Linked DNA regions of Homo sapiens: regions 2, 3, 4, 5 and 6 are each linked to region 1. The links are contacts of gene promoters, found by promoter capture Hi-C in blood cells and fetal thymus (Javierre and others, 2016). All regions are on one chromosome and are shown on one strand. Each heading gives the region's core, a stretch centred on a gene start or on the middle of the fragment in contact. The rest is flanking DNA. Distances are from core to core; before and after follow the strand shown.

Region 1 (4,283 bases), core at 883-3,382:
CACAAACACACACACACACACACATATATATAATTATTATTTTTTTTTTTGGGTGAGAGGCAAGGTCTCAGTCTGTCACCCAGGCTGGAGTGCAGTGGTGCCATCATGGCTCACTGCAGCCTAGAACTCCTGGGCTCACGGGACCCTCCTGCCTGGGTTTCCCAAACTGCTGGGATTACAGGCGTGAGCCACCACACCCAGTCAGCTGATTATCTGTAGAAGGAGATATCATATGTACCTTAGACAGTTGCTGTAAAGATCAAATGAGGTCCACACAAAAACTTCTTTTTTTTTTTTTTTTTGAGACGGAGTCTCACTCTGTTGCCCAGGCTGGAGTGCAGTGGCACAATCTTGGCTCACTGCAACCTCCACCTCCCGGGTTCACGCCATTCTCCTGCCTCTGCCTCCCGAGTAGCTGGGACTACAGGCGCCAGCCACCATGCCTGGCTAAATTTTTGTATTTTTAGTAGAGACGGGGTTTCACCGTGTTAACCAGGATGGTCTCGATCTCCTGACCTTGTGATCCGCCCACCTCGGCCTCTCAAACTGCTGGGATTACAGGCGTGAGCCACTGCACCCGGCCACACACAAAAACTTCTACACAAATGTTCATAGCAGCATCATGTATAATAGCCAAAAAAGTAGAAACAGATGTCCATCAATGGATTAATGGATAAATAAAAGATGATGTCCAGCCAGGCACGGTGGCCCATGCCTGTAATCCCAGCACTTTGGGAGGCCAAGGCAGGCAGATCACTTGAGGCCAGGAGTTCAAGATCAGCCTGGGCAACTTGATGAAACCCCGTCTCTACTAAAAATATAAAAATTAGCCAGGCATGGTGGCACATGCATGTAATTCTAGCTACTTTGGAGGCGGAGGCATGAGAATCACTTGAGCCCAGGAGGTGGAGGTTGCAGTGAGCCAAGATCACATAACTCCACTCCAGCCTGGGAGACAGAGTGAGACTCTTCAAAAAAAAAAAAGGTGATGTCTGTATAATGGACTATTATTCGGCCGTAACAAGGAATGAAGTGCCGATACATGCTACAACATGGATGAACTTTGAAAATATTATACTGTGTGCAAAGGAAGGTAGTTACCTTCCCGGGTTCAAGCAATTCTCCTGCCACAGCCTCCCCAGTAGCTGGGACGACAGGCGTCCGCCACCATGCCCGGCTAATTTTTGTATTTTTAGCAGGGACGGGGTTTCACTATGTTGGCCAGGCTGGTCTCGAACTCCTGACCTCAGGTGATTCACCAGCTTTGGCTTCCCAAAGTGCTGTGATTAGAGGCATGAGCCACCCCACCTGGCCTAGCAGAGAGCAATTTTGAATACAGCTGTTAGATTCTGCACTCATGCCTTCTCTAATCCATGTCACTGGAGTAGAAATAATTGCTTTGACAGAACCTGGTGTAGATGTGTCTGTAGGAAGAAACTGTAAAATGAATGGATCATTTTGTGAAATATCTGCCCTTTCCCCACCTTTCTTTTGCTTCTTTGCCTTTTTCTCCCTAGTTTTCATTTCTTTCTTTTAGGGCGTCAGCCCCCCACCTCTGTGGTTGGGAGGGACTATTGCACGTCTACACTCTCGTGGGGATGAAATAGTGTTTGAGTTCGTTATTTGCATTTGCGCGTTATCTCCCCGAGGAGATGACAGCTTCTCTGCCAGCAGCGGGCAAAGGTGGGCTCTGAAGCAGAGGAGAGGAATTATCAGGAAAAGCTCATTTTCTTCTCCTGTCCTAGGGTTTCACTGATGAAGGCCTCTGGGACACCCACGTTGGGGGTGGGGGCGGTGAGGACCGCCACCTGCCCGCGGCTCCCCTGCAGCCAGGCCACGCGCGCTGTTGCTAGGGCAACCACCCGGCCAGGCCTGCGGCTGCCGGGAAGCCCCCTCGGGAGCGCGCACGGGAAGGGCTGTGGGGGCGCTGGCCGGCTGCGACGTCAGACCCCCGCCCCTCGGCGCCTGCCGGACCCAGCTCCATTCCCAGCCGCGCCTCCTTCGGTGGGCAGCCGGCCGGAACTCACGAATCAGAGCAGCCGACACATCGTCCGCTCAGCCAATCGTAGCAGATGTGTGATCCCGCCACCTCCCCGGACCCTGGCGGTTGTCGCTGAGTTGGCGACCGCGGGAGACGCTGCTGAGGCGGCTTCGGTTGCGGGTCGGAACGGCGCTGCTCTGCGGGGCCGGTCCAGGCTGGCAGCTGCCGGCGCTTGGCGGTGAGGGCGGGCTCCCGAGTGGCCCCCCACCGAAGGCGGTGGGACCAGCGGCTGAGGCCAGGATGCCGTCCAGGCGGCGCGGCGGCTCCTCACTCATCCCAGGTAAGGGGGACGCGGCGCTCGCTGCGGCTCCGCTCCCCTCTCGTCTCCTCACACCCGGCCCTGTGCCCCGTCCTGGCATCCCTTGGCCCCTTGTCGCCTTCTGCTCGGTGCCTCCCGGTTGTCCAACCCCGCCCCCGAGCGCGGAGCCCCGGGTCTGGCCCGTCCGGCCCCTGCTCCCACGCCCCTTCCCCCATCGCCGGCATTTCCCGGGCTCGGCTTCGCCCCGGCCGCCGGGGCCTCTCCCCTCTGCCCTTTCTCTCCCTTCTCGCAGCCCTGGGACCACGTCCTAGCCCCGCAGTCCCCTGGGATGAGACCCTCGTCTCGCCGGGATCGGACATTTGCCCCCACGTCTACCCCGGCTGCGCTTCTTGAGCTCATCGCCCCATCATCCTACCCGTTGTACGTAGTCCTGTCTGCATGGCAGTCGCCCGCCCCGCTCCAGGTGTCCCTGGGTCTTGCCCTTTTGCTCCTAAGCACCTTCCTTTCCCAACTCGCCTCTTCTCCCCTCACTTTGACCACCCACCATCGCAATCTCCTCTTCCTTCTCTTACTCTTAAACCTCCAGACACTTTCCCACTCTCTGCAATGCCGGATTCATCGCTTTTTTTTTTTTTTTTTTTGAGAGATGGAGTCTCTATGTTGCCCAGGCTGGCTTCGAACTCCTGACCTCAAGCTATCCTTCTGCCTCGGCCTCCAAAGTGCTGGGATTACAGGCGTGAGCCACTGCGCCTGGCTCAGATCCATAGTGTAATATCTTCATTCGTCCTTACATGAGCTGCACCCCATAACATGTAAAGTCCCTTGCCCAGAGTCTAGCACACAGTAGGCCTGGCACATGGTGGGTGGTCACGCATGTTAGCCTCTTCCTCCTTCCAGGCGTTTTGTACTTTCCAGATGATGGTAGCAAGAAGTCCAGTGTCCACAGGGATTTGACTCTGCCTGAAGAATGGTATGGGAGATGGCAGGAGAAATTGGTGAACTCCAGTAAAGCGATTAAATGGTCAATTACTGCATTCATTAAGAAGAAACAATTCTGCTATCCGTGCCATGTATTGTTTTATGTTAATTGCCTTTGTAAAGGATTCTTAGGCTGCTAGTCAGCAGGCTTTGCGGTGTAATTACTCCCCATCCCCTCTCCATCCCCATCTGCAGTGTTTGGGTAACTTTCTTTTTAGGAAAGAAAGAGCCCCTACCTCCCAGCTAAAGTGGCATAGTATATAAGCAATGTGGTACGTGTTTATCTATTAGCTGGATAGTCCAGGGAGCTGCAATGAATTTTCATCTTTTAAGATCCAGGAGGAATCAGGATTTGGATTTCCTGGAATCAGCTGCTGTACAGACCAAATATGCTTAAGAATGAAACTTCTGACAAGTCCTCTAAGAGTGAGAGAGGAATTATCCACCCCTCTCCCTCCCCCTCTCCAAACACTCGCTCTTGGAGGAAATAGCGAGTCGATTTTTAAAAAAGAGTAAAATACGTTTGACTTTTTAAAATGATAAAAGCATTGTCATTGGCCCTGTACTATTCTTGCCACCTTTGCTCTGATGGTCTCAAGCCTGGACGAATCAGTCAGCTTTTTCTGCTCCTGGGCTCCCAAGGCAGACTGGCAAAAATCATATAACTAAACTGCTGGGTGCTGTTTCTGCACTTCTGGATCCTGGAGATCCTTTGACTTAACCTCTAGATTCCTCTTATGTCCTAAAATCTAAATGGCTGTTTATGGATCTTTACCATTTTTCTCTGACTCTTTGTCCTACTCTTGCCTTCTCTTCATTGCTTATTTTGCCACTTAACTTCACAGAATAAATTGGTGGGCATCAGCCCTGAACTCTTAAGGAGAGGTCATTTTTGTCTGTGCCTGTCTGTACCTGATTTCTAATATCCTTTCCTCTGATCTCAGAAGAAGAGGGGTCTTACTTTCGAAAGCTAACGTCTTTGATCTCTTCCCATATTATTATTTT
Region 2 (4,283 bases), core at 844-3,343, 470 kb after region 1:
GAAATTTGTGCTTGTGTCCACTAAAGGCTTTTTTTTTTTTTTTGTGATGGAGTCTCACACTGTCACCCAGACTGGAGTGTAGTGGTATGATCTCAGCTCACTGCAACTTCCACTTCCCAGGTTGAAGCAGTTCCCCTGCCTCAGCCTCCTGAGTAGATGGGATTACAGGCACCCACCACCACACCTGGCTGATTTTTTTTTTAAGTAGAGATGGAGTTTCACCGTTTTGGCTAGGCTGGTCTTGAACTCCTGAGCTCAGGTGATCCACCCACTTCGGCCTCCGAAAGAGCTGGGATCACAGGTGTGAGCCACTGCGCCCGTCCTAAAGGTCTTACATAGGAATGTTCATCCCAGCTTTACTCATAATAGCCCAAAACTGGAAACAACCCGAATGTCCATCAACAAGACAACAGGTATTCATGCAAGGGTATACTTACATAATAAATAATAATAAATAATAAAAACAAACTACTGGTACACACAATATGGTGGATAAATTTCAAAAACATGTTGAAGGAAAGAAGCCAAGTACAAAAGAGAACATACTATATAATTCTATTTATATAAATTTCAAGAAAAGGCAAAACTCATCTTTACTGATCTAGGAGAAGTTAGAGTGGTTGCTTCCGTAGGGATTAACTGGGAAGTGACATGAGGAACCTTAAGGAATGGAAAAGTTTCATCTTGATCTAGGTGGTGGTTGGACGGGAATATTCATACTTATAAAAATTGAACTGTACAGTTAATATGTGTATATTTGTTGACTATTTCACCTCAATTATAAAACTATATATATATATATATAAAGGGCTAGATGTCATATTTTTCCATTACACTTACATATACCTAATATTATACCTAATAATAGTAATTATAGTTGCCTACTGATAACAACTAATAACACTTATTGAAGCCCTACTCTGTGCCAGCGATTTTCTAATCACTTAATTCCCTAATACATTATGAGGTTTTATTATTTTCTCCAATTTTACAGACAGGGAAATTGAGGCATGGAGAGGTTAAGTTTATTTACCCAGTGTAACACAGCTGGCAGTCTGGTTTCGAGACCAGCCTGGCCAAGATGGTGAAACTCTGTCTCTGCTAAAAATACAAAAATTAGCCAGGCGTGGTGGCAGGAGCCTGTCATCCCAGCTATTCGGGGGGCCGAGGCAGGAGAATCGCTTGAACCTGGGAGGCGGAGGTTGCAGTGAGCCAAGATCACACCATCGCACTCCAGCCTGGGGGACAGGAGTGAGACTTTGTCTCAAAAAAAAGAAACAAACAAAAAAAACCCCAAAAAACTCCCCACAGCTAATATACTCAGTGGTGAAAGACTGGAAGCTTTTCCATTAAAATCATGAACAAGACAAGGATACCAATTTGTGCCAATTTTATTCAACATAGCATTGGAAGTTCTAGTCAGGACAATTCAGCAAGACAAATTTAAAAGATTCAGATCGGAAAGGAAGAAATAAAATTTTTCATGAACGATGTGGTCTTATGTGTAGAAAACCGTAAGGATCCAGCATAGACGAAAACTGTTAGAACTAATAAATTCAGCAATGTAATAGGATGCAAAATCAACACACACAAAAATTAGTTGCATTTTTGCACACAAACAGTGAACATCCCAAAAGGGAAATTAAGAACATTTCATGTATGACAGCATGAAAAAGTATAAAATACTTTAGGGTAAATTTAACCAAGGAGGTCAAAGACTTCTACACTGAAAACTGCAAACCATTGCTGAAAGTAATCAAAGAAGACAAATAAATGGAAAGACATGTCATGTAACTTGGGTTGTTAATTAGTTAAGTTTTAAGAGCTCTCGATATATCCTGGATAACAATCCCTTATCAAATATGTGATTTTCAGGCCAGGCATGGTGGCTCAAGCCTCTAATCCCAGCACTTTGGGAGGCCGTGGCAGACAGATCATTGAGGTCACGAGTTTGAGACCAGCCTGGCCAACATGGCAAAACCTCATCTCCACTAAAAATACAAAAATTAGCCAGGAGTGGTGGCCCGTGAATTGCTTGAACCCAGGAGGCAGAGGTTGCAGTGAGCCAAGATTGTGCCACATCACTCCAGCCTGGGTGACAGAGCGAGACTTCGTTTCAAAAAATATATATATATATACTTGATTTGCAAATAGAATCATCTGTCGGTATACACAGAGGATTTGTTCCAGGATGCCCACATATACCAAAATCCTCACATACTCAAGCATATTCAAGTCCTGCAGTCAGCCCTGCAGAACCCCTGCTTATAAAAAGTTAGCCCTCCACATATGTGGGTTTCACATTGGGCAAATAATGTATTTTCAATCCGTATTTGGTTAAATAAATCCATGTATGAGTGGACCTACGCAGTTCGGACCTGTGTTGTTCAAGGGTGAACTGTATTCTCTCTCCCCCATTCTGGGGATTGCCTTTTTATTCTGAGACAGGGTCTCATTCTGTCGCCCAGGCTGGAGTGCAGTGGTGTAATCCTAGCTCACTGCAACCTGGAACTGCTGGGCTCAAGCGATTCTGCCACCTCAGCCTCCCAAGTAGCTGGCAAGCTCCACCATGCCCAGCTAAGTTTTTAAAAAATTGTTTGCATGGAGGGGGTTCTCACTATGTTGCCCAGGCTGGTTTCAAACTCCTGGCTTCAAGCCTAGCTCCCACCTCCGCCTGTCAAAGTGCTGGGATTAGCGGCATAAGCCATCACACCTGGTCCGTGAATAGTGTCCCTTGATGCACAAAAGTTAAAAAACTACTGATGAAGTCCAACTTGTCTATTTTCTTTTATTGCCTGTCCGTTTGGTTTCATAGCCAAGAAATCATTGCCAAATCCAAAGTCATGAAGCTTTACCTCCAGGTTTTCTTCTAAGAGTTTTGTATTTTTCATGCTTACATTTAGGTTTTTGATTTATTTTTGAATTAAGTTTTGTAGATGGTGATAGGTAAGGATCTAACTTCATTCTTTTACATTAAATTTTATGTCATGTACATTTTACCACAATACAAATCTAATTTAAAAATTTAATACTCTTGTGATAAAAAGAAATCTAACAAACTAGGAATAGCATGTAACTTCCTCAACATGATAAAGGCCACGCCTGAAAAATCTACAGTTAACATCATACTCAATGGTGAAAAACTAGAAGCTTTTCCACTAAGGCCGGAAACAAAGGTAGGAGGATAACTTGAGGCCATAAGTTTGAGACCAGCTTAGACAACAAAGTGAGACCCCTATCTCTATAAAAAATAAGAAATCAGAAACAAGACAAGTACCAACCTGATGGTACTTTTCTCTGTTTATAGAAATCTACAGGCTGGGCATGGTGGCTCAAGCCTGTAATCCCAGCACTTTGGGAGGCCGAGGCGGGCGGATCACAAGGTCAGGAGATCGAGACCATCCTGGCTAACATGGTGAAACCCTGTCTCTACTAAAAATACAAAAAATTAGCTGGGCTTGGTGGCGGGTGCCTGTAGTCCCAGCTACTCGGGAGGCTGAGGCAGGAGAATGGCGTGAACCCGGGAGGGGGAGAATGCAGTGAGCTGAGATCACGCCACTGCACTCCAGCCTGGGTGACAAAGCAAGACTCCGTCTCAAAAAAAAAAAAAAAAAAAGAAATCTACAAAGGAATGCCGGGTTTGGTGGCTCAAGCACTTTGGGAGGCTGAAGCTGGTGGATTGTTTGAGTCCAGGAGTTTGAGACCAGCCTGGCAACATGGCAAAACCTTGTCTCTATGAAAAATACAAAAATTAGCCAGGCGTGGTGGCGTGCACCTGTAGTCCCAGCTACTTGGGGGGCTGAGGCAAGACATCTCTTGAACCTGGGAGGTTGAAGCTGTAGTGAGCCAAGATTGTGACACTGCACTCCAGTCTGGGTGACAAAGACCCTGTCTCGAAAAAAAAAAGAAACCTACAAAGGAAAATCCATGCTACTAAGCAAGTTCATAAAATTTAGTCTCAACATCTAATAGCCCACAGAAAAAGGTATGGCCCTTGCATTCTCCATCTACCCATGAGATGCCTTCTTCCTCAAGGCAATTCTCTTTCCCCTGCCCCTCCCATCCTGCTGGTATTTTTAGACCAAAATATTTGGGGAGAAGAGAAAAGGTAATCCAGTAGGCCGGGCGCGGTGGCTCACGCCTGTAATTCCAGCACTTTGGGAGGCCGAGGTGGGCGGATCACGAGGTCAGGAGATTGAGACCATCCTGGCTAACACGGTGAAACCCTGTTTCTACTAAAAATACAAAAAATTAGCCGGGCGTGGTGGCAGGCGCCTGTAGTC
Region 3 (4,283 bases), core at 1,134-3,633, 470 kb before region 1:
CTGAGGTCAGGAGTTCGAGGCCAGCCTGGCCAACATGGCAAAACCCTGTCTCTACTAAAAATACAAAAAGTAGCCGAGCCTGGTGGCGGGCGCCTGTAATCCCAGCTACTCAGGAGGCTGAGGCAGGAGAATCACTTGAACCCAGGAGGCAGAGGTTGCAGTGAACCGAGATTGCGCCACTGCACTCCAGCCTGGGTGACAGAGCCAGATTCTCTAAAAAAAAAAACAAAAAAAGTTTAATTGCTGTTCTTACTGGAATAATAGCACATGTGAACCAAATACAATACAGCAAAATGAAGCCATAATAAAAATATTAGCAATTTATTTTGCAAAGTTTTTAATCACAATTGGTTAGTCAAAAGTAATGCACGTCATACTACTGTTCCTGAAGCTTCGAACTGCTGGGCTCAAGCAATCTTCCTGCCTCAGCCATCTAAGTAGCTGGGACCACAGGTGTGTGCCACCATGCCAGGCTGGTTTTTTATGTTTAGTAGAGCCTGGGTCTCATTATGTTGCCAAGACTGGTCTCCAACTCCTGGGCTCAAGCCCAAGTGTGATCCGCCTTACCCGGCTCTGAAAGGTTTTCTACAGATCACATTTTTTAAGCTAACAAATTTTCTTTTAATTTTTCTTTTTCTTTTTTTTTTTTTTTTAGACGGAGTCTCTCTGTGTTGCCCAGGCTGGAGTGCAGTGGCGTGATCTCGGCTGACTGCAACCTCTGCCTCCTGGGTTCAAGTGATTCTCCTGCCTCAATCTCCCAAGTAACTGGGATTACAGGCAGGCACCACCATGCCCAGCTAATTTTTGTGTTTTTAGTAGAGACGGGGGTTTCACCAGGTAGGACGGGCTGGTCTCAAACCCCTGGCCTCAGGTGATCTGCTCACCTCAGTCTCCCAAAGTGCTGGGATGACAGGAGTGAGCCACCGTGCCCAGCCACAAATTTTCTAATGGCTAATTGTGTTAGAATCATGTACTCCTTTTTAAAAAGTTATTCACTGATAATGGCCTTCTAAAGTATAGTAAATTGGAACGAACACTCCGGAAAACAATATGGTGTTAGTAACACTAAACACACGCAATTTATACAACCCAGCAATTCCACCTGAGGGAGACACTCAGGAGAAACTTTCATGAGTAGGCTGGGTGTGGTGGATCATGCTTCTAATCCCACCACTTTGGGAGGCCTAGGTGGGAGGATCGCTTGAGCCCAGGATTTCAAGACCACCCTGGGCAACATATTGAGACCTAATCGCTACAAAAAATAAACAACATTAGTGGGACGTGGTGGCACACACCTCAAGTCCCAGCTACTTGGCTGAGTTGGGAGGATGGCTTGAGCCTGGAGGTTAAGGCTGCACTAAGATCACGCCACTGCACTCCAGCCTGGGTGGCAGAGTGAGACTCTGTCTAAAAAAAAAAAAAAAAAAAAAAAAAGAGGCCAGGCACGCAGTGGCTCATGCATGTAATCCCAGCACTTTGGGAGGCTGAGGCAGGCGGATCACCTGAGGCCGGGAGTTCAAGACCAGCCTGACCAACATGGAGAAACCCCGTCTCTACTAAAAATACAAAATTAGCCAGGCGTATTGATGCATGCCTGTAATCCCAGCTACTGGGGAAGCTGAGGCAGGAGAATCGCTTGAACCCGGGAGGCAGAGGTTGCGGTGACCTGGGATCACGCCATTGCACTCCAGCCTGGGCAACAAGAGTGAAACTCTGTCTCAAAAAAAAAAAAAAGAAAGTTGTATGATTGGAGGAGCCACATATATAAGAATTTTTACAGCAATACTGTGAACATTCTCAGTTACTGTGATTACTGTGATACTCCAATAGCCATTGGAAACTTTAAAAAGAGAATATCATTTAATGTCATAAATGATAACTTACAACATAAACTGCAGGAGAGTAGTTACTTCTGAAAGTAAGAAAGGAAATGAGATTGAGAAAAGGTATGTAGAGTTAATCAATGGCATTATAGTAATAATGTTCCTTTAAGTAGGATAGTAGGTGTACAGATGCTTTTTGTATCTGTGTGTATAAAATATTTGCTAACAAATTTAATATTTCATATCAATATGTTAAATAGCAATACATTGCTGCCTGGGCACGGTGGTTCACACCTGTAATCCCAGCACTTTGGGAGGCCGGGGCAGGCAGATCACGATGTCAGGAGATCGAGACCATCCTGGCCAACATGGTGAAACCCCATCTCTACTAAAATACAAAAAAGTAGCTGGGCATGGTGGTCCACACCTGTAGTCCCAGCTACTTGGGAGGCTGAGGCAGGGGAATCGCTTGAACCCAGGAGGTGGAGGTTGCAGTGAGCCGAGATCGCGCTACTGCACTCCAGCCTGGTGACGGAGAAAGATTCCATCTCAAAATAAATAAATAAACAAATAATACCAATACATTAAAATAGCATGAATGTCTTAAAAGAACACAGTTTGAAATGTGATTTAATATAAACATTAGCATTCAAAATAAGTCACACCATGGAAATATGCCCATGATATGTCACATGAATAAAGGAAGTTGCAGAACATATATATAATGTGAGCCCCCATTTTTGAACAAATAAATCTCTACGTGTGTCTATATCCAGGTATGGTATATGGTTATACATCTATGTCTATACAGCTATATAAAAGATGAAACATTCATTTATTTATTTATTTTTATGTTTTTGAGACAGTGCGTGGCTCTGTCGCCGTCCAGGCTGGAGTGCAGTGGTGCAATCTCAACTCACTGCAATCTCCACCTTCCGGGTTCAAGCGCTGGGATTATAGACATGAGCCACCACATCTGGCCTACAGCTATCTTTATAATGGAAAAAGTGGGGGAAATTTATATTACAAAGCAATATGATTATAGTATAAGAACTGCAGCAATATTTGACCGAATCTTCCCCTTCCTCCTCCTAGAAATTATGCAAAGTGATAGGGAGACATAGTGGGGGGGAATGAGGCAGAAATCCCATATTCAGCAAAACTAGAAGACAAAAAGTCACTGGAGACTCCAAGACCTGCACAAGGGCTACCAAAGTTACACGCGAAGAGGCAGATGCAGATCCTAGGAAACACAACTAAAACAGACTCTCTGAAGATGAGCCGTTCATGCCACAGTCCAAAAATGTGTTGTTTGAAACAAGCACAGCAGAGCAGGGATAAAAAGAACTGAGGGCAAGGCTCAAACAAGCAGAAAGGGAGTTGAAACCCTTGTAATCCAAGGGGTGAAGGGCATCTCTCCTGGCCTGAGCATCTTATGGGCAGAGTTAAGGTCCTAACACCCAGCTCACTCTCCTAGGGAGGGCATGGGAAAAGAATCAGCCTTCCAAGTAAATTCAATGTAGGGTGTGTCACTAACATTCTATTTTGGCCAGCACGGTAGCTCATGCCTATAATCCAACCACTTTGGGAGGCTAAGGCAAGAGGATTGCTTGAGCCTAGGAATTTGAGACGAGCCTGGTCATCATAACAAGAATCTTTTTTTTTTTTTTTGAGATAGAGTCTTACTCTGTGGCCCAGACTGGAGCGCAGTGGCACGATCTCGGCTTACTGCAACCTCAGCCTCCCAGGTTCAAGCAATTTTCCTGCCTCAGCCTCCTGAGTAGCTGGGATTACAGGTGCACACCACCAAGCCCAGCTAATTTTTGTATTTGTAGTAGAGACGGGGTTTCATCATGCTGGTCAGGCTGGTCTTGAACTCCTGACTTCATCATCTGCCCATCTTGGCCTCCCAAAGTGCTGGTATTACAGGCGTGAGCCACTGTGCCTGGCCCTAAGACTCTATCACTTGAGAGAGAGAGAGAGAGAGAGAGAGAGAGAGAGAGAGAGAGAGACAGCCAGTCGCGCCTGTAATCCCAGCACTTTGGGAGGCCAAGGCAGGTGGATTGCTTGAGTCCAGGAATTTGAGACCAGCCTGGGTGGCATAGCAAAACCCCATCTCTGCAAAAAAATACCAAAAAAGGCTAGACATGCTGGCTCACGACTGTAATCCCAGCTACTCGGGAGGCTGAGGCACAAGAATCCCTTGAACCCTGGAGGTGGAGGTTGCAGTGAGCTGAGATCGTGCCACTGCACTTCAGCCTGGGCAACAGAGAGACTGTCTCAAAAAAAAAAAAAAGGTAGATGAAGAGCTCACCAGAAACACAGGGGCTGTGTGCCCTATGTGCAGTGATTGGTGGTGATGCTAGGGAGTACTGGACTGGGAGGCGAAGCCCTACAGGGCCAGTTTAGAACAGTGCAAAGAAAAAATAACAAAAATAAAACAAAACAAAAAATAGTACA
Region 4 (4,283 bases), core at 1,195-3,694, 440 kb after region 1:
GAGATTTAACCATAGCTGCCAAAGCTATGCACCCAGTTGGCCTTAGAAAACCACAATGTTTACAGCCCTGTCTTAGGGCCGCGGCTTCTCTTATCTTCCACCACCTTCCTTGCTTGCAGGGTTATCTTCTCACAGGGCTGGAATGCAAATTTCAGAGGCTTCTTTTGAAGATTCCCCAAGTCAAGCAGGCAAGATGCCTAGATCTTCTGTTATCTTTGACATGTAACATCCTTTTTAGAGGCTCAGAACACCTCCTTGGCTGCTATCTCATGTGTTAGAATCCAGTTTGTGGTGAACCTCTTTGGAAGGGGACCCCCTCTCTTTAAACCCTGTTCCTCTGTCCTGGTAACATTCTCCTTCTAGGAGAGCCTCTCTTCTGAGAAGGTAAAGGAAGGGCTGGGTGAGACACACAGCTATCCTAGGAGCCGTAGGAAGACAAAACTTCCCTTTTGTTTTACTCCTCACTCCTCTATTTTTGTTTTACTCACTTCTTTATATTTTGTTTTACTCCTCACTCCTGTATATTTTGGTTTACTTACTCCTCTATTTCAGAAATTGAAAAAGATCCCCAAGGATCTGTTACTACTGCATTTCCTTCTTGCTCTGTCTACAGCCTAGGCCAACTAGTCAGGGTCTGGACATGCATCTCCTAAAGGAAGAACTGTGTAGCACCATTGATCACAATGTAACATTTCCATGCTGCATTAAGGGTGTCTCTCTCTAATCATGATTGTACCTGTCTCTTCCTGGGTAAAGGGAGATTTTTTTTTTTAATGTGTAAAGAATTGATGCGAGCCAGGAACATGTCTGTAGTCCCAGCTACTTGGGCACACGCCTGTAGTCCAGGCCACTCGAGCACACACCTGTAGTACCAGCTACTCTGGAGGCTGAGGCAGGAGGATCACTTGAGCCCAGGAGATTAAGACTGTAGTATACTATGATCGTGCCTGTGGCTAGCCACTGTGCTCCAGCCTGGGCAACACCATCGTAAAAATAAATAAATAAATAAATAAATTGGGGAGGACAGCCTCACTGGTATCAGACTTACAGGACCAGATAGACAAGATGGGTATAAGGGGAGCTGAAGTCTGTGTTCATATGAGGAAGAGAAGACCAAGCCCTGGGACTTTGGCTGAATTCCTCCGTGGGGCTGGACGGCAGTGATCTCCTGTTCCCTATGTGTAAACAAAGATTCCAGGGCGTGGTTTTGCACTCCTGTTGTACTCTTTTAGAGGTGGAAAAGAGGTGGATACTGAGATCTAAGAGGAAAGGATAGTCATTCACGTTCTGAGATATGCGCTCTCTCTATTGTTCTCGTACACAAAGGGATAGTCTCTTTTCTGGAGCTGATGTCCCTGCTTGGAGGTTAGCCCCAAAACATGGCTCTTGTATTGTTCTAAGAGAAAAGGCTTTCATTTTGGTTCTTCTGATTGGTGTTACCTACTGCCTAATATGTGTTCATTTTTTGACAGAGAGGCAGACTATTGAAAAAGTCTGTGTGAACAGAGAGCAGTTCATTAAGCCCATTGCTTTCAGTAATGTGGCCTTGACCCCTTCTGCTTCCCCCTTCTCCCATGGAGCATGGCAGGGCTTGGTTATTTAGAGTCCATACATGCAAGCCATTGAGAGACTTGTTTGCTCAAATGCAAGTTTGCTCAAAAACAGGTCCTGAAGGCTTGCTTAGGATTACAGGGATGCTGGGTAAGAACACCGTTCCTCTCTCTCGCTGGAGAAATCCCTGTTTCTCTGACTCCCTTTGTGATCCTCACAGTAATGTATTCTGTGCCACTGTAGGACACAAGGCTCTGGGCCAGTAGAACAGGCAGAGAGGTGACACTGGGCAGCAAGCTGAGAGCTCTTTCTAAATGGAGTGAAGGAATTCAGTGGCCTAGTTTCGCCATTCTCTAATGAGAAACCAAGGCCAGGCTGAAAAGTGCAATTAGATGTGGTGGATTGTGGTAACGGCCTCCAGATAAAGGGGTTATCCCTGTGGAAGTGACTTTTCCCCATTTGATCCCTTTTCAACTCTAAATGGCCAGGCCCAGAACAGAAGAAGGGTTGGGTCTGGAAGGAAGGCTCCAAAGGATGAAAGCTTCTCCCTGATCATAAGGAAGTGCATCTTTATAGAATTGTTGTGCATAATGTCAGTAAATCCCTCTCACTTGACAAGGGACTGGATTCATCTTGCCTTGAGACGGGCCAGTAGTTATCAGTGAGTCAAAGCAAAGTGAAAGTTTCAGGAGATGGGACCAATGGTGCAATGCTCGCCATAACAAAATTCCTTAAAAATAAAAAAGCTAATGTTATAGCAACAAAAAAAGACTGAAGCAAAACCACACTGAAATGCATCCCACTCCAGGAGAGGAATTCTTAGCGTAACACTCTAAATAAATGGAAGGAATCATCACCTTCCTTATTTTACCTCTGCCTTGTTCACCAGGCTGCCCAGTGCTTACCATGCAGAAAGCAGTCAGCTGTACTCTGGAAGTTTCTGTTCTTCTTTCCTGGGGCTTAGGATATTCTGGGAGCTGTCTGAGCCTTGTGCCTAAGGCTTATCAGGTGATATAATCTTCCTGTTCTGGGCTGCTTGCTGGAGGAATAGGAAGTGACATTTATAAGACACAGGCGGTGTGAGCATCCATGTGTGGTCTTGGTCTAAACCAGCTCTTGAACAGGTTAAAGCAAACAGCAATAACAAAACAAAAACTACTGATGCTGAGCGTTTTGATCCTAGTAATATTTCAAATATTGTCCTTCTGCATATGTTCTATCCATATTTGATTCCAATATACATTATTAAGCTTTCTTGGGTACTATTTTGCTGGGGCTCTTGCGTGAAGGTGGTACCTGTCTCATGATCCTTAAAAGAGAGAGGCTTTTTTCATCCAAAGCTGTAGTGTTGGGAACTGGGGTGGGAGAGGCACTTTTTGGAATTCTGAAAGAATCATATCTGTGTATATACATACTGAGTGGGGAAGGATGGGGGTTGGCAGGGGTTGAGGGAGGTGGGAACAAACAGTGAGTATGGGAACAGGCAGTCACCTCGAGTGTGGGAGGTCACCTGGGTCCGTCGTCTTCCTTCTGTATGGTGTTGGGTTTATGTACACACTATAACACTTCCTGTGTGAGTTCATGTACCTGTCTGTGAGTGCTTTGGTGTATTGAGCCTCAGTACACTCCAAGGGCATTAAAGTCAAGAACTAGAACCTGGGTGCTGTGCCTTTCTTTTTTAGAGATGTGCTCTCATCTCTTCTCTGACCCCCACTTTGCCAGCAAATATTTTTTATTTCTGCTTAAAATGTGGTGTGTTTGGGGATGCCCCACACAACAAGACAGGCTTTTCCCTGAGACCAGCAGCTGAATTTCTGCCCTGAAAGGGAGGTGGGCCTCTTGAGGACCCTTCTAGAGTTACTCTAGACTTGTCCCTGTTTCATGTAGGCATGTGCCCACCCCAGCCTAGGCAAAATCTCTGTCCTCTTCTTTTGGGAGTTCTCCAAGGAAAGAAGAGACTGCAGGTGCAGTCACGTGTGTGGCTCACAACCATGTCAGGTAGTTCTAAAATAAATTCCTCCTGTCATATTACCACTTCCTTTTCAATGGGGGAAATAAGTAGCTCTAAATTTATGTAAGCCTCAGTGGTTAAGACCCTTCCTTAAGAAAAATGGACGTAAGTTGCCCTTCCTTTGAAAGCAGAGCTTGACACCTTCCTGGCTAATGAGTGTCCTCATCAAGATGCCCCCTGGAGTCACATCATGGATTAACGCAGAAAGGTGAGTTCTGAGGCTCTGAGTAGCTTCATACCCTCCAACTGCTTCCCTTAAACCTCTGATTATTCTGGCTTTTAAACAAAAGCACTGTATCATCTGTGCCAAATGTATTCCCTGACTAATTACTGAGTACAGTCACATAGTTATAGTACACTAATAATACAGGCTGGAAACTGAAGCTCATAGAAGTATGTAGTTTCCCCAAGAGTGCAGAGCTAGTAAGTGGAAGAGTCAGGATTCAAACCCAGAGCCCCTTTCTGAAATCCTCAGAGGTGTTCAACAGCATGATCCTCCCTTCCTCTTGACAGCTCGTATCCTCCTCCTGAGGTTTAGGGCTTCACTCTACCTGACCTGTGAAGATTTGAAAGCACATATCTAGGACAAGTATTAGAAAGTCTTCATACTTCAGGAAAGGATTTTAGGAAAAAAGGAAAAAAAAAATCTCCCATAGATGTTGTATTAGTCCATTTTCACACTGCTGTAAAGAACTACCTGAGACCGGTTAATTTATAAAGA
Region 5 (4,283 bases), core at 1,054-3,553, 320 kb after region 1:
CAGTTTCCACACGTGGGGCAGCAGGGACTCCAGGCCTAACTGTGCGGAGCCAGGAGGGTCCATTGCAGGGATGTGCAGACTGAGGCCCAGAGGGGAGGGCTGGGCAGTCTCAGAGATGCTTGGAGGGACCTCTGTGATAGCCCCGCTTGTGTTGTCCAGGCCCAAGCTGCTCACTGAGGGAGTCAAAGAGCCCATCGTGGATAGTCAAGGTACCCAGCACGGGGTCGCGGGCCATGGTGCGGGCGGGCAAGGGAGGGCCCCAGGCCTCTGCCACCAGCCCCTCCTCCTGCTGCCTCTGTCCTGCTCCCACCCTGACCCTGGCATTCTGCCCACACCCCCGCATTAGGTTTCCCCTAATGATGCCATCTTGGGTCCCAGGAACTGCCTCATCACTTGGCTTCTCTCCCCCTGCCCTGCCCCCAGAGAGGGATTCCAGGGACCCTCTGGTGGGCGAGAGCCTGAAGAGACAGGGCTTTCAAGGTAAGGTTGAGCTCAGGGGGAGGTCTGTTGTCCCAGCACCAGGACCTTGACCTGGTTTGGGTTTGGAGGGCCAGGCTGGAAGTGGGGAGGAGCTGGCCCCCAACTTCAGGGCCTAAGGGACCAGGCAAGCCAGGTTGGCAGCCCAGGCCCGGCTGTACCCTGTAAGCTCTGTGTTAGAGACTCCAGGGGAGAGGGGGTGCCTACAGGTGGACGGTGGGGGAAATTGGGGGTTGGGAGGCTACAGGGCGCAGGAGCCTGCCTGCCCCCCTCCAGGAAGGTAGCTGACATGCCCACTCCTTATTCAGCAATCAGCTGTGGTCTTAGTGCTTTGAAATCAGAATAAGAGCCAGGCGTGGCACCTCACGCCTGTAATCCCAGCACTTGGGGAGGTCAAGGCAGGCGGCTTGCTCAAGGCCAGAAGTTCGAGACCAGCCTGGGCAACATAGAACCCATCTCTAGGTCTATTTTTAAGAAAAGAAATCAGAGGCTGAGTGCAGTGGCTCACACCTGTAATCCTAGCTCTTTGGGAGGCCGAGATGGGTGGATCACTTGAGGCCAGGAGTTCAAGACCAGCCTGGCCAACATGGCGAAACCCCGTGTCTACCAAAAAAATACAAGAATTAGTCAGGCGAGGTGGCATGCACCTGTGATCCCAGCTACTTGGGAGGCTGAGGTGGGAGAATCACTTGAACCTGGGAGGCGGAGTTTGCAGTGAGCCAGGATCGTGTCACTGCACTCCAGCATGGGCAACAGAGCAAGACCCTGTCACCCTGTCTCAAAAAAAAAGAGTGGGGGGAGAGAGAAATGGTGGTGTAGGATCCCTCCGGCACATGCGGGCACTTGTCTTGTTTGTTTGTTTGTTGAGATGGAGTTTTACTCTTGTTGCCCAGGCTGGAATGCAATGGCGCAATCTCAGCCCACTGCAACCTCTGCCTCCTGGGTTCAAGCGATTCTCCTGCCTCAGCCTCCTGAGTAGCTGGGATTACAGGTGCACGCCACCACACCCGGCTAATTTTTGTATTTTTTTTAGTATAGACGGGATTTCACCATGTTGGACAGGCTGGTCTCGAACTCTCGACCTCAGATGATCTGCCAGCCTCAGCCTCCCAAAGTGTTGGGATTACAGGCATGAGCCACTGCACCCAGCTTTTTGTTTGTTGTTGTTGTTGTTGTTGTTGTTTTTTCTGAGACAGAGTCTTGCTCTGTCATCCACGCTGGAATGCAGTGGTGTGATCTCGGCTCACTACAACCTCCACCTCCCAGGTTCAAGGGATTCTCTTGCCTCAGCCTCCCAAGTAGCTGGGATTACAGGTACACACCACCATGCCCAACTAATTTTTGTAGTTTTTTGGTAGACACGGGGTTGTAGAGATGGGGTTTCACCATGTTGGCCAGACTGGTCTCCAACTCCTTCCTTCAGGTGATCCTCCCGCCTCGGCCTCCCAAAGTGCTGGCATTACAGGTATGAGCTGCCGCGCCTGGCCACACTTGGGGGTTTTTAATGAACACTCTCTGGGTGAGGGTGGCTGGGTGGCTCATACTTGTAATCCCAGCTGAGGCAGGTGGATCATTTGAGCTCAAGGGTTCACAGCCAGCCTGGGCAACATGGCGAAGCCCTATCTCTACCAAAAACACAAAGAAGAAATTAGCCAGGCATGGTGGCACACAGCTGTGGTCCCAGCTACTCAGGAGGCTGAGGCAGGAGAATTGCTTGAGCCTGGGAGGTGGAGGTTGCATTGGGAGCTGCCAGGCGTGTCCCCTGTGTCTGTGGGGACTGCCCGTCCTCCACCATCTGCTGGATCAGCTGGGCTTCCGTTCCCTCCTTTGTCTCCAGCCCCCCAGTGACTTCATGAAGCCCATACCCCCTGCCTGCCAGCCCAGGGCACAGGACTCTGCACTCTATGGTGTCCCTCCTCTCCGGGCTTATTTATTGATTTGGTGGTTTTCAAATGTCAACAATTAACTGAATTTCCAACTCATCACTGTTGTGGCAACAGTGCATGTCCTTCTGGAAAAAACACATCTCCATCAAGACGTTGGTGCTGAAGAACCTGAGCGGCCCACTCCAAAGATCCGTTAATTGCCAGAGAAGGAGTTCCCCATAATTAGAAAATCATCTTCCTTAAAAGTCACCAAGTGCCTTTTCACTGAACAGCCCAAACCCATAATCATTTTGCGCTTTGCAGAAAATTACGACGCGAGGCTCTTACGGATTGACATTGCCAACACGCTAAGGGAGCAGGTCCAGGAGCTTTTCAATAAGACATATGGTAAGCAGCGCAGAACCCCTGGGGAGGGACATGTAGCTGCTGTGGACAGAGAAGTGGCAGGTTTCCCAGTTCCAGCCGAGGGGATTTCTGGGGAAACGATTCACCCCTTTACATGTATTTCTTGAGCATTTACTATGTGCCAGGCACTGTCTCAGGCACTGGGGATATTGCTGTGAATAAAACAGACACAGTCCCTGTACTCATGAGCCTTGCAGACCAATGAGGTGAGACACACTTTCAACAACTACACACAGAATTTAATAGACAGGGGCCCGGCTCGGTGGCTCATGCCTGTAATCCCAGCACTTTTGGAGGCTTGAGCTCAGGAGTTCAAGGCCAGCCTGGGCAACATGGTGAAACCCCATCTCTACCGAAAATACAAAAAAGAAATTAGCCAGGTGCAGTGGTGCACACCTGTGGTCCCAGCTACACAGGAGGCTAAGGCAGGAGAATCGCTTGAGCCTGGCAGGCAGAGGTTGCAGTGAGCTGAGATCGTGCCATTCCACTCCAGCCTGGGCAACAAAAGCGAAAATCTGTCTCAAAAAAAAAAAAAAAAAAAAAAAAAGGAGCATACGACATGGGAGCATATTGGTGTGGCTTTTTCTTTCTTTTCTTTTTTTTTGAGACAGGGTCTCACTCTGTCACACATGCTGGAGTACAGTGGCGTGATCATGGTTCACTACAGCCTCAAACTCCTGGGCTCAAGCAATCCTCCTGCCTCAGCCTCCTAAGTGGCTGGAACTACAGGCATGCATCACCATGTCCAGCTGTTTTTTAGAAATCTGTAGTAGAGACAGGATCTTGCTATGTTGCCCAGGCTGATCTCGAAATCTTAGACTTAAGTGATCCTCCTGCCTTGGCCTCCCAACATGCTGGGATTACGGGCATGAGCCACCATGCTGGCCTTTTTTTAATGTTCTGATCAAATAGCTTAGATTGTAATGCCTATACCTTTCCACAATGCTACATAAGAGCTTTCTCGTACCATTCACTCTCCTGCACGCATGTCTTTCCATCACACCCCCGCAATCCCATGTACACACACCCCACGCTGCCTCTCACTCCTGACGGGCAGGACCCTGCCTCTCACCCACAGGGGAAGCCTTGGGCATCAAGTACCCGGTTCAGGTCCCCTACAAGTGGATCAAGAGTAACCCCGGCTCCATGATCATCGAGGAGCTGCCACCAGGAATCCTGTTCCGAAAGCCCTTCGGCTCCCAGAACCTGGAGAGGATTCTTGCCATGGCCAACAAGATCACGTTCACAGTCACCAGGTACTCAGGGGGAAGGGTGAGGGTGAAGAGGCAGGACTAGCTCAGATGGGGGCTTACACCTGCGAATCCTTAGCCTTTCCCTAGGTCGTGCCCTCCCCACTGGACAAGGTGGCTCTCCTGGCACCATCCTGGGTCCTGGGGGTGGCCAGAAAGGGACTGCAGGCCAGCCTGAGTGCAAGGTGTCCTTCAGAAGTGGGACTGGTCACCCCACCATGGCAAGGGCAGCCTTCGAGGGCATCTTCAACCTGTTCAGCAACAC
Region 6 (4,283 bases), core at 1,312-3,811, 260 kb after region 1:
CACCCAGGGAGAGCATGGAAGCTCGCATCTTCCCCCATTCTTCGCCCCCAGCATCTCCTTCCTCTGGATCCTTTGCAATATTTGTTGTAATAAACCGGAAAACAGAAGCATCTCCCTGAGTTCTGTAAACCACCTCAGCAAATTCATCGAACCTAAAAAGGGAGCCATGGGAACCCCAACTTGAAGCTGGTCAGTTAGAAGTCCTGGAGGCCCGGAGTTGCAACTGATGGGGGTTAGGAGGGGCAGTCATGAGGACTGAGTCCTCACCCTGTGCGATCTGACACTACCTCCTGGTAGATGGTGCAGGAAGTAAACTAGAAGACACCCAGCTGGTGTGGTGTGTAGGGGAAGAATCCCCACACATATGGTCACGGAAGTCTTCTGTGTTGATGATTACTGTGGCGTGAACAGAGGAAAAATACAGTTTGAGAATTGTTTTTCCCTACACAACCAAGCATATCATACGTTCTCAAATCTTTGTTGAAAGAATAACTGAATGAATAAGGTTACTGTAGAGACTATAGAATAACATGGCTATAGAGCAATGATACATACTAAATGCTTAATAAATACAAAAGTCCCTTCCCCCAGGGTCAGGTGCAATGGTTCACGCCTATAATCCCAGCACTTTGGGAGGCGAAGGTGGGAGGATGGCTTGGAGCCAAGCGTTCAAGACCAGCCTGGGCAACATAGCAAGACCCTGTCTCTATTATTTAAAAATGTTTAAAAATCTCTTCCCCTCATGAGTGATTAGCAATTACGTTAAAATTATACATGCTGGCCGGCCACGGTGGCTCACGCCTCTGATCCCAGCACTTTGGAAGGCTGAGGCGGGCAGATCACGAGGGCAAGAGTTGGATACCAGCCTGGCCAACACAGTGAAACCCCATCTCTACTAAAAATACAAAAATTAGCTGGGCATGGTGGTGCGTGCCTGTAGTCCCAGTTACTAGGGAGGCTGAGGCAGGAGAATCACTTGAACCCGGTAGGTGAAGGCTGTGGTGAGTCGAGGTCATGCCACTGCACTCCAGCCTGTGCAACAAAGCAAGACCCCATCTCAAAAAAGAAAAAAAATTATACATGCTCATCAACTTTACAAGGGAAAATAAACATCTATGGGATGGTTAAACAAACTGGGGCATGACCACACAAGAGAATACCGAACACTAAAAAGAACAAACTGTTAACACATGCAAAAGCCTGGATGCTCAAGAGCAAGATGCTGAGTTTTTTAAAAAGTCCATCTTAAAAGGTCACATACTCTAGGATTTATACTACCTTTCCAAATGACAAAACTACAGATATGGAGGACAAATTAGTGCTTTTTCCAGGTTAACAGTGGTGAAGGCAAGGGAGAGGAGGGGAAGGAAAATAGTATAAGCAGTTAACTCAGCAAGCTGAGTTGCTCAAATGATGCACATTCTCAGACGAGCCTGCTTCTGAGACTGGCCCTTGGTCAGCGCCTAGAAACTGAGGTCTTGTACTAGCCCTATGCCCTAAATGATAAGGGTGTTTTGTATGCTTACGGTACTGAACCACACTGTACCAGCTTCTCTAGATATTTTATGTGAACTGTATGATTTATGGTAAACACCTGCTTTCCTTCTGGAGTTGCTGTAATAGTGATCAGTCGCAAAGGAACTACATGCCTATGTGATATGGTCTGAATCTGTGTACCCACCCAAATGTCATGGTGAATCGAAATCCCCAATGTTGGAAGTGGGGCCTGTGAGAGGTGATCTGATCATGGGGCAGTTACTCATGAATGGTTTCACACCATCCCCTGTGGTTCTGTGCTTGTGAGATCTGGTTGTTTAAACGTGTGTAGCACCTTCTCTCTTGCTCCTGCTCCCACCAGGGGAGACACTTTGCTCCCCCTTTGCTTTCCACTATGATTGGAAGCTTCCTGACGCCTCCCTAGAAGCAGAAGCTGCAATGCTTCCTGTACAGCCTGTAGAACTGTGAGCTAATTAAACCTCCTTTCTTTATAAATTACTCAGTCTCAGGTATTTCTTTATAGCTATGTGAGAATGAACAAACTAATACACTATGTGACCCATCTCCAATAAAAGCCCTGGATTCTGAGGCTCATGTGAGCTTTCACAATAGAAAACACTTCACATGTGTTGCTAGAGTTTATGGCTGGGGAAGTAAGCACAAACTGGGCAACTCTACGGAGAGAAGACTCCGAATCTTCACAATGCTCGTGTCCTATAGAATCTTCTCAATGCACAACTACCCTTTATTAATCCTGCTTTGTATCCCCTCACTGTAACAAACCATAGCAAAGAATGTCCTGTGAGAGCCTTGAGCGAATTACGAAACCTGGGGGCAGCCCTGGGGACTGCTGACATAGGATGTGACTAAAAGGGCATAAGGGAGGTCTTTCGGGTAATGGAATAGTTCTGTATCTTGACTATGGTGGTGGCTACAGGAATCTATGTATGAGATAAAATGTGCATGACACTATACACATACATTGCACAAATATCAAATTCCTAGTTTCGACATTATATTATAGTTATGTAAGATGTAACCATTAAGCAAACCAGAAGAGTACACAGGACCTGTCTGTATTATCCTTACAGCTTCCTATGGATTTGACGTTATTAATTATTCCAAATTCTAAAGTTTTGTTAAAAATCACACATGAATGTTTTTTAATAAAAATAAACACCTATCATGGGACTAATGTGTATCAGTTAAACACAACACTCAGATCATTCTGCTGCTTCTAAGTATAAAAAGAGAGCAAGGGTACCACCAAAAGAGAGTGCCATCATTTGAAAGGCTATGTGGTGGTGCCGACAGCTGTTATGGTAGAAGGCAGGAGAGTCGGCACACCCAGATTGGACATCAGAGCTACAGACAGCATATCCTGTAAACACAGGAAGAAACATGGGGGATCGACTGCATGAGACTCAACTCTTTCCTGGGCAGACAGACCTGTCCCTAGACAGGTAACCACCACCAGCACTGCTTCCAGGAGGGAGCTCCAAGGGGCCACATGCCACTCCTGTTTGAGCACTGCACTCCAATAAATAGGAGCTTGATTGAGCAACCTGGGCATAAAGAATGCACGATTCAATTGGTCCCACTTATGTCAGGGAAGACAGAGTAAAAATGATCTCTGCTGCTGGGACAGTTAGGATTCTATAAATTGTGCCCCAGGGCTAGGATTTATTCTAGGTCCAGGTACCTACAAAGACCAGAGAGGTACAAAGCTTACTTACAAAGCTCACAGAACTATTAGTGTTCTTTCTTAAGACTCTGGATGCAAACCAGTTTCATCTCAGAAAAGCAAAACCAAAACACTTTACAGATGTGAGTAGTTTCCCTCTATCCTTGAGCGGGCCCTGCTTCCTATTCTTGGGTTCAATGTCATGCCCTCAGAGGTCATTCCTATCTCCAGACAACTCATCTGGGACTTACAGGAAACATCCAATCAATTCCAGCAAAATGATAAGCTATCCATTGACCTCAATTAAGAAATAAAACTTACAGGTGATTTTTTTCCCTTAAATTTGTTTTTTTTTTCTAGTTGAAGCAAAGAATACTCATTATTTACAAAACCTGATATATATAGACAAGTAGAAAAAAAAGTTTTAGTCATAGAGTCACTGTATATGGTACATATTCTTATAGTGTTCCCTTGCACTCATTCAACAAATATTTATATACTGATTGATTACTGAATGACAGGCACTTAGGACACAAATATAAGTAAAAATAAATCATTTCAGTCCTTGTGGAGCTTACCGTGTAATATAAGAAATATGACTGTATATCTGGAAGGCCTAAAGAAAATAAAACACTGTTACTGCTGAGAAATTAACTTTAAAATGGCTAACTTTCATAAAAGAATTCATATTTATGTGAAATAAGCTAAATAGGTACACGAAATCTGTGGAACTCTTGTAACAGACAAACAATAACAAGTTAGAAAGTATAAAAAGAGATATCAGTCAAAATAGCATGAATATGTAAAGACTTATAGAAAATATTTTAATGAGAAAATTATAATCCACATGGAAACACTGAGATATACTTAACGCAATGTGCGAAAATAAAATCTTATAACCATGTCAAACATTCCAAAATGTGTAAGTTTACTACAAATGGCAATAAAAATCCCACAAGACTTTCTGGAACTCAACAAAATGATTCTGTCAGCAAAAATAAACACTAAATTATTTTTTGATTTTCTAAATTAATTTTCTGAATTTTTATTTGCAAACTAGTTAGAAGACTGTGAACTCAAGAACAGACCTGTCAAACCACTA

What was found. The method cuts DNA at HindIII sites, captures the fragments that hold promoters and counts their contacts. A CHiCAGO score of 5 or more calls a contact.
Region 2: a contact is called between a fragment that was not itself captured here and the fragment with the promoter of TPST1 in region 1, in 3 of 17 cell types (endothelial precursors, M1 macrophages and M0 macrophages). The highest score is 6.3, in endothelial precursors.
Region 3: a contact is called between a fragment that was not itself captured here and the fragment with the promoter of TPST1 in region 1, in 2 of 17 cell types (total CD8 T cells and erythroblasts). The highest score is 6.0, in total CD8 T cells.
Region 4: a fragment that was not itself captured here is called in contact with the fragment with the promoter of TPST1 in region 1 in 2 of 17 cell types (M1 macrophages and endothelial precursors); the score reaches 6.6 in M1 macrophages.
Region 5: a contact is called between a fragment that was not itself captured here and the fragment with the promoter of TPST1 in region 1, in 3 of 17 cell types (M0 macrophages, M1 macrophages and megakaryocytes). The highest score is 8.4, in M0 macrophages.
Region 6: a contact is called between a fragment that was not itself captured here and the fragment with the promoter of TPST1 in region 1, in 4 of 17 cell types (M1 macrophages, M0 macrophages, M2 macrophages and 1 more). The highest score is 7.6, in M1 macrophages.

The regions. Positions count from the first base shown.
Region 1 is chr7:66,203,202-66,207,484 of GRCh38, forward strand. TPST1 (tyrosylprotein sulfotransferase 1) reads left to right here and starts at 2,133. Exons shown (of 6, transcript NM_003596.4): 1 at 2,133-2,321. RefSeq lists silencers at 1,756-2,025, 2,176-2,535. The HindIII fragment of the contact is 8,515 bases long and covers 1-4,283 here.
Region 2 is chr7:66,674,165-66,678,447 of GRCh38, forward strand. It overlaps a transcript of RABGEF1 not described here. Among named protein-coding and RNA genes, the nearest start is that of KCTD7, 47 kb to the left of the region's middle. The HindIII fragment of the contact is 1,508 bases long and covers 1,340-2,847 here.
Region 3 is chr7:65,735,441-65,739,723 of GRCh38, forward strand. The region is part of intron 2 of LINC03006 (long intergenic non-protein coding RNA 3006); the gene reads right to left. Among named protein-coding and RNA genes, the nearest start is that of SNORA22, 18 kb to the right of the region's middle. The HindIII fragment of the contact is 3,989 bases long and covers 390-4,283 here.
Region 4 is chr7:66,639,842-66,644,124 of GRCh38, forward strand. It overlaps KCTD7 (potassium channel tetramerization domain containing 7), which reads left to right. Exons shown (of 4, transcript NM_153033.5): 4 at 1-3,206. Among named protein-coding and RNA genes, the nearest start is that of KCTD7, 13 kb to the left of the region's middle. The HindIII fragment of the contact is 709 bases long and covers 2,091-2,799 here.
Region 5 is chr7:66,518,326-66,522,608 of GRCh38, forward strand. It overlaps the pseudogene LOC100420547. Among named protein-coding and RNA genes, the nearest start is that of LINC03011, 27 kb to the left of the region's middle. The HindIII fragment of the contact is 5,661 bases long and covers 1-4,283 here.
Region 6 is chr7:66,463,923-66,468,205 of GRCh38, forward strand. No RefSeq gene overlaps it. Among named protein-coding and RNA genes, the nearest start is that of LINC03011, 28 kb to the right of the region's middle. RefSeq lists a silencer at 1,491-1,691. The HindIII fragment of the contact is 1,322 bases long and covers 1,901-3,222 here.